Linked DNA regions of Homo sapiens: region 2 is linked to region 1. Evidence: promoter capture Hi-C in human tissues and cell types (Jung and others, 2019). All regions are on one chromosome and are shown on one strand. The core of a region is centred on a gene start or on the middle of the fragment in contact, and the rest is flanking DNA. Distances in the headings are between cores, read along the strand shown.

Region 1 (4,062 bases), core at 368-2,867:
CTGGCAGGGGATTCCCAGTCCAGGGAATATCCCTACATGATTTTTGTCATTCATGGGTCCTCCCTGGGCCTGACAACGGGAGTGGTGGGTGGGTGAGAACAGGTTCTGAGAGGGGGCTTCTAGGAAGGCCCCAGCCCTAGTCCTAGGCGACTTGAATAAAGTGGGAGGTCAAACATGGGCCTTCGGCATTGGGTTTCTAGGGAATATGGCTCAGTAGGGCCTGCCCCTTCAAGGGCAGCAAGAACGAAGCAGGATGTTGTCACTCCCGTCTGAATAAAGCTCCATGAGCTGGGTTGGAAAGCTGAACATTTATCTTGCTTTCTTCTTCCCACCTCTTTCCCTGGGGTCCCCAGGGGTGTCTTGCCTTTGTTAACCCCCATCGGAGACCTGAGGGTCTGGGGGTGGTTGGGCCTGCCTTTCTGCTGTTCCCAGCTGTTCCCCTGCTGACATCCCTAGGAGTGGTGGAATGCCAGGCTCCTGTCCTGTGGCCTGGGGGCCTGGGGCATCATTGGGCCTGCCTTCAGACTGAGGTTGCTCTATGTTCTCACTGCCTGAGGACAGTGTCCCGCCACCACCTGCCTTCCTGAGGACCACACTCAGGCTCGGCTTCTCTTCCCCAGCTGTGGCTTCCCATGGTACCCTGCTGCTTATGCCACCTGTGGGGCTGTTCCCCTCCTCAGAGAGGGGAATGGGGCTGGTCAGAGGACCTAGGGATCACCCTTCCTTTTACTTTTTCCCCCCACCCCCCTGTCAGGCTCAGGTGAGAAGCCGAGGCCAGGCTGTCCAAAGCTCTTTTCATGTGTAACAGTTCTGAGTCCCTTGACCTCCCCCCTTGGCCTGACTCTGGTCTCGGTTCCACTAAGACAGAGTCCTGTCATCTTTCCCTACCATCCCCCACTGGACTGTCTCTCTCAGAAACCCCAGGCAGCCTTGCCTCCTGACCTAACTCCTGGAGATGCTGGTGTTCTTGGGAGGAATTTCTCCTGCATCTTACATGCTAGAAGCCCCTGGGGCAGGAGGTAGGGGGAGGAATTGAGAGGAGGAAAAACATGAACTAGACACCTAGAGAAGAAGGATGTGACTTGTAGTATCCTATGTCTAAATTAGGAATATGAATCTGGTTTTTCTACAAGAAGTTTGAGATCACAGCTGACTGTGTTCCTGATGCATCCACCAAACCCAGTTCCATCTGTGGGCCTCCCTGGCTCTGTCACCAGCCGTTGCACCCTCCCAATCACAGGAGTCACAAACCTCAGACATGCAGCTCCTGTCCACACTTAATATATGCATGCATTGGATCACCCAGCCCTGGTCTTTCTGCCTCCATGGATAACTGCATGACCCTGAGAGAAAACCTCCTTAGATTTAGCATCCTAGGTTCCTCACACGCCTCACCCTGAATCCTGGCCCTCCCGCAGCCCCAGCGCCATTTGTCCCATCAGTGACAAGATTCATATTCTGATGTAGACTCTGTTGCCAGAGCCAGTGTTGAGCCAGTCCGCCTCTTCCCCGGGAAGTGCCTGCCCTTCCCTCCTGTTAGGGTTGGCTCTCGAGCTTGTGTGCCAGTTCCTGGGTTGGCCGTGAGAGTTCTACAGACAAGGAGGAAGTGCTCTCGGTGTATTTCCTGTGGTGGGTTCACACGCAGCTAGACACAGCTAACTTGAGTCTTGGAGCTCCTAGAGGGAAGCTTCTGGAAAGGAAGGCTCTTCAGGACCTCTTAGGAGCCAGGTAGGAGTCTGGGACTACTAGTGAACCTAGACCTGTGGCTCTGGCCAGAGGGGCTAGGATGAGAGACAGAGGGTGTGATGGTGGGTGCTGGGAGATGTAGCCGACCTTGGGGCTGGTGGCTGGGGGAGTGGGTAGCCTGGGAAAGGCCAGGATGTGGACGGACTGGTATGGCATTGAGCCTGAAGTGGTCCAACTTGGGGTTCCCCAGTGCCTAGGAAAGTTGTCCCCTTGAATGTCAGTGTGAAGGTGAAGGAGGAAGCAGATGCCTGTTCATATGGAAACAAAGACCTGGCTGTGAAGAGGGGAGGCGGACACCAAAGTCCTGACACTTGGGCGGGACAGAATTGATCTGTGAGAGACTCATCTAGTTCATACCCTAGGTGACCCTGGGGGTGGCATGGGGGTAGATTAGAGATCCCAGTCTGGTATCCTCTGGAGAGTAGGAGTCCCAGGAGCTGAAGGTTTCTGGCCACTGAACTTTGGCTAAAGCAGAGGTGTCACAGCTGCTCAAGATTCCCTGGTTAAAAAGTGAAAGTGAAATAGAGGGTCGGGGCAGTGCTTTCCCAGAAGGATTGCTCGGCATCCTGCCCTTCCCAGAAGCAGCTCTGGTGCTGAAGAGAGCACTGCCTCCCTGTGTGACTGGGTGAGTCCATATTCTCTCTTTGGGTCTCAATTTTGCCTTCCCTAATGAAGGGGTAAGATTGGACTAGGTAAGCATCTTACAACCATTTGTGGTCATGAGAGCTGGGGTGGGGAAGGATTGTCACTTGACCCCCCCAGCTCTGTTTCTAAGTGCTGAAAGAGCTCCAGGCTATGCTACGGGAGGAGAAGCCAGCTACTGAGGAAAAGCCAGCTACTGAGAAAAAGCGGGAGTGGTTTACCATTCTCCTCCCCCACCTTTCACCAGAGAAGAGGACGTTGTCACAGATAAAGAGCCAGGCTCACCAGCTCCTGACGCATGCATCATGACCATGAGACACAACTGGACACCAGGTAGGCCTTGGGGCTACGCATGGGCAGGCGGGGTAGGGTGAGGTCTATGAACAGAATGGAGCAATGGGCTAACCCGGAGCCTTCACTCCAAGGCAAACCACCCAGCGCACCTGGTGCTGTTGCTTTAAGAACCTGGGCAGATATTGTAGCTCTGGCTCCAGTCTAAAGCTTCTCTGTACTCTGTTCAATAAAGGGCTAAGGGGTGGGTGCTGAGGGGTCCCTCTTCCCGCTCTGATTCCCTGGCTAGAACCCAGACATCTCTGGGCTGGAGTTACATCCTTACCCGGGCAGCCCACTCTGTCTCCAGAGCCGCTGACCTGTAACTGTCCTTTCCTCAGACCTCAGCCCTTTGTGGGTCCTGCTCCTGTGTGCCCACGTCGTCACTCTCCTGGTCAGAGCCACACCTGTCTCGCAGACCACCACAGCTGCCACTGCCTCAGTTAGAAGCACAAAGGACCCCTGCCCCTCCCAGCCCCCAGTGTTCCCAGCAGCTAAGCAGTGTCCAGCATTGGAAGTGACCTGGCCAGAGGTGGAAGTGCCACTGAGTAAGAAGCACAGTGGTGGAGGGTGGGCTATGGGCACAGAGGTTCCCAGGGTCGGGTTGACTCCTGAGCGCCAGTCCCCTTCTGCCCATGTACCACCAGCTGAGCCAGCTGGGCTGAGCACGCACCATTCTCCCTCCCCAACCCAGTGTCATGGGTGCAGGCTTGGCGCAGCTCCCAAGATGCTCCCTATCAAATAGGACAGAGAACTCAAGACATAAGTAATGGTCACAGGACCTCCCAGAGCCTTGGTTGCAGTGGACCCCAAGGCCAGCCCCTCCACCCAGAGCCTGCTGGCCTCTGGCCATCTCAGAGGAGCAGCAGCCATCCAGCACTGCCTTTGTCACCTGGGCTCCCAAGTCACCGAGGCTGGGCACTAGAAAAGGTCATCCTGAGGAGACAGGTTCAGAAGAGGATTCATCACGTGAACCAAGGACCATTCCTCACATTCCCCGTGTTTAGGGCTAGGGCCTCTCGGAGACAACTGCACTTCTGTAACGGACGTTCCCACCTAGGTGGTGTGCAGAGCAGTTCTCTAGGTTCCAGATGCATGGGGACTGGGGGGAGCTGGCAGGGAGGGCACAGCAGAGCAGGGTAGGGGAAGGGCCTGCTCTTCTGAAGAGCTAACTGCTGCCTGTGTCCCTAGATGGAACGCTGAGCTTATCCTGTGTGGCCTGCAGCCGCTTCCCCAACTTCAGCATCCTCTACTGGCTGGGCAATGGTTCCTTCATTGAGCACCTCCCAGGCCGACTGTGGGAGGGGAGCACCAGGTGAGGGTCGCAGCAGCCAGGTGGGTGGG
Region 2 (4,062 bases), core at 907-3,406, 510 kb after region 1:
CCAAAGTCTCATCTGAGACAAGGCAAGCCTCTCCCACCTATAAGCCCGTAAAATCAAACACAAATTAGTGACTTCCAAAATACAGCGGGTGTATGGGCATTGTGTAAACATTCCTATTTCAAAAAGGAGCAATTGGTTAAAAGAAAGGAGTAACAGGCCCAATGCATATTTAAAACCCAGCAGGATAGTCATTAAATCTTAAATGTCCAAAATAATCTCCTTTGACTCTATGTCCCACAACAAGGGCACACTGCTGTGAGGGGTAGATTCCCAAAGCCTTGGACAGCTCTGCCTCTGAAGCTTTGCAGGGATCAGCCCCTGTGGCTATCCTCACAGGTTGGAGTTGAGTGCTTGTGGATTTTCTTGGGGTGCAGAGAGCAAGCTGCTGATGGATCTACTGTTCTGGGGTCTAGGAGATGGTGGCCCCCTTCCCATAGCTCCACTAGGCAGTGCCCCAGTGGGGACCCCGTGTGGGAGCTTCAACCCTACATTTTTTCTCCACACTGCCATAGTAGAGGTTTTCTGTGAGGACTCTCCACTTGCAGCAGGCTTCTGCCTAGGTGCCCAGGCTTTTCCATACATCATCCGAAATCTAGGCAGTGATGCCAAGCCTCAATCACTCTTGCACTCTGTGCATCTAAAGGCTTAACACCATATGAAAGCCACCAAGGCTTATGGCTTGCACCCTCTGAAGCAACAGCATGAGCTGTATCTGGGGCCTTTTGAGCTGAGGCTGGAGCTGGAGTGTCCTGGATGCAGGGAACAGAATCCTGAGGTTATGCAGGGAAGTGGAGCCTTGGCCCCCGAAACCATTCTTTCCTCCTAGGCCTCAGAGCCTGTGGTGAGAGGTGCTACCTCTTAGATCTCTGAAATGCCTTTGCGGTCTTTTTCCCATTGTCTTGGTTACCAGCACTTGGATCCCTTTTAGTTATGCAAATTTCTGTAGCAAATGGGTGTTCTGCTGCCTGCTACAATTCCTCTCCCAGAAAAGCTTTTTCTTTCTCTGCTACATGGCCAACCTTCAAATTTCCCAAACTTTTATGCTCTGCTTCCTGTCTAAATATAAACTCCAAACTTAAGTCTTTTCTTTTCTCTCAAATCTGAGTGTAGGTTGTTCAAAGCAGCCAGGCCACATCTTGAACACTTTGCTGCTTAGAAATTTCTTCTGCCAAATACCCTAAATCAAGTTTGTCCAACCTGCAGCCTGCTGGCCGCATGTGACCCAGAATGACTTTGAGTGAAGCCCAATACAAATTCATAAACTTTCTTAAAACATTGTGAGTTTTTTGTGATTTTTTTTTTCTAGCTCATCAGCTATCGTTAGTGTTAGTGTATTTTATGTATGGTCCAAGAACAATTCTTCTTCCACTGTGGCCCAGGGAAGCCAAAAGATTGGATACCCTTGCCCTAAATCATCACTCTTTAGTTTAAACTTCCACAGATCCTTAGGACATGGACAAAATGGAGACAAGTTTTTTGCTAAGGCATAACACACATGACCTTTGCTCCAGTTCCCAATACGTTTCTCATTTCCATCTGAGACCTCATAAGCCTGGACTTCATCATCCATATTACTATTGTTGTAAGACTTTTCCTTAATTGAGTGAAAGATGGGGTCCTTGTCCATCCCACAGCCACAAAAATTTAGGCTCGTAGATGATTTGAAGGGTGAGTGAAGCAGGGTTTTACTGGGTTAAAAGGAAGAAAAGGGGGAAACAGGGACTCTCACTAGGCCAGAGTCCCTCCACTAGAGTGCTTCCTGCCCGGGTGATTGAATCCCAGGTTCCACACAGGAAGAGGAGGCACCAGGCTCCTCCCTGCTGCAAAGGTCATGAACTTCCTGAGGCTCCACCTCAGTGGGCAGGCTGGTTGGAGTTTCTCCAGGGACTCCCTCCCACCTGGCTGTCTCACTATCAGCATTTTGGTCACAATCATTTAACCAGTCTCTAAGAAGTTCTGGACTTCCCTTGGTCTTCCTCTCTTTTTCTGAGCCCTCCAAACTCTTCCAACCTCTGCCTGTTACCCATTTCCAAAGCTGCTTCCATGTTTTCAGGTATCTTTATAGCAAGGCCTCACTCCTCAGTAACAATTTTCTGTATTAGGCCATTCTTGCATTGCTATAAAGAAATACCTGAGACTGGGTCACTTATAAAGAAAAGAGGTTTCATTGGCTCATAGTTCTGCAGGTTTTACAGAAAGGATGGTGCTGGTATCTGCTTGGCTCTGTTGAACTGTTGAGGAGCATTCAATCACGGTGGAAGGTGAAAGGGGAACAGGCAGGTCACATGGTGAAAGCAGGAACAAGTGAGAGTGTAGGGGGAGGTCCACTTTTAAATGGCCAGATCTTGGCAAGAACTCACTATTGCAAAGACACCACCAAGCCGTGAGGGATCCACCCCCATGACCAAAACCCCTCCCACCAGGCCCCACTTACAGCATTGGGGATTACAATTCAACATGAGATTTGGGCAGGGACAAATATCCAAACTACATTAGCTGGATATGAAATTCTTGGTTGGAATTTCTTTTCTTTAAGAATGCTGAATAGGCCGGGCACGATGGCTCATGCCTGTAATCCCAGCACTTTGGGAGGCCGAGGTGGGCAGATCATGACGTCAGGAGATCGAGACCATCCTGGCTAGCATGGTGAAATCCGTCTCCACTAAAAATACAAAAAATTAGCCGGGTGTGGTGGCAGGCGCCTGTAGTCCCAGCTACTTGGGAGGCTGAGGCAGGAGAATGGTGTGAACCCAGCAGGCAGAGCTTGCAGTGAGCCGAGATTACACCACTGCACTCCAGCCTGGGCAACAATGCAAGACTCCATCTCAAAAAATAAATAAATATATAAAAGAATGCTGAATATAGGCCACCAATCTCTTCTGGCTTGTAGAGTTTCTACTGACAGGTTCACTGTTAGCCTGATGAGGTTCCCTTTGTTGATGACCTGCCCTTTCTCTCTAGCTGCCTTAAACATTTTTTCTTTCATTTCAACTTTGGAGAATCTGATGACTATGTGTCTTAGGGATGGTCATCTTATACAGTACCTCACAGGGGTTCTCTGCATTTCCTGAATTTGACTGTTGGCCTCTGTAGCGAGGTTGGAAAGATTTTCAAGAATGATATCTTCAGATATGTTTTCCAAGTTGTTTGCTTTTTCTCCCTCTCTTTCAGGGATGCCAATGAGTCATAGATTTGGTCTCTTTACATAATACCATCTTTCTCAGAGATTTTGTTCATTCTTTTTTATTTCTTCACTTTTGTCTGACTGAGTTACATTGGAGGACTGGCCTTCAAGCTCTGAGATTCTTTCCTCAGCTTGGTTTATTCTGCTATCAATATTTGTAATTATGAAATTCTTGAAGTAAGGTTTTCAGCTCAATCATATCAGTTTGATTCTTTCTTCAAATGGCCATTTCATCTTTCAGTTCCTGTGTTGTTTTATTATATTCCTTAGATTCCTTGGATTGGGTTCTGACTTTCTCCTGAATCTCAATGATCTTCATTCCTATCCATGTTCTGAATTCTGTATCTGTCATTTCAGCCTAATTAAGAACCATTCCTGGGGAAGTAGTGCCATTATTTGGAGGTAAGAGGACATTTTGGCTTTTTGACTTGCCAGAGTTCTTGCACTGGTTCTTTCTCGTTTATGTGGGCTGATATTCCTTCAATCTTTGAAGTTGCTGTCCTTTGGATAGAATTTTTTGTTTTTATCTTCTTTGATCCCCTTGGGGGTTTGATTGTGGTATAAAGTGGGTTTAGTTGACTGGCTTCATTTCTGAAAGATTTTCGGAGGCCCAGTCTCAGCTCAGTAGTCCTGGGAAGCATGCTCTGGGAGGCTGGTACTGGGCTCTTGGCTTTATTCTCTGGCCTCTTGAGGTTAGGAACCTGCTGTACTGAAGGGGCCACAGTGCTCCTGATCCACTGGCCACAACACTCCAATGAGTGGTGCCAGCTAAAGAACTTTGTTGGGGCAGTGGCAGCGGGATCCATGCTCCCCTGCATGTGCCAGTAACTGTGGCAGTGTGGTGGGGGTACACGTGCATTGTCTGAGGCAGGGCATTA

The links. Contacts are between HindIII fragments. The study calls those that stand out against the background at their distance.
Region 2: a fragment that was not itself captured here is called in contact with the fragment with the promoter of IL18BP in region 1 in 2 of the 25 tissues and cell types used here (dorsolateral prefrontal cortex and hippocampus).

What each region holds. Positions count from the first base shown.
Region 1 is chr11:71,997,292-72,001,353 of GRCh38, forward strand. IL18BP (interleukin 18 binding protein) reads left to right here and starts at 1,618. Exons shown (of 6, transcript NM_001039660.2): 1 at 1,618-1,728; 2 at 2,636-2,721; 3 at 3,060-3,266; 4 at 3,910-4,033. The coding sequence starts at 2,694. It overlaps RNF121 (ring finger protein 121), which reads left to right. Exons shown (of 9, transcript NM_018320.5): 9 at 1-306. The HindIII fragment of the contact is 6,503 bases long and covers 1-2,288 here.
Region 2 is chr11:72,506,408-72,510,469 of GRCh38, forward strand. No RefSeq gene overlaps it. Among named protein-coding and RNA genes, the nearest start is that of LINC01537, 62 kb to the right of the region's middle. The HindIII fragment of the contact is 8,278 bases long and covers 1-4,062 here.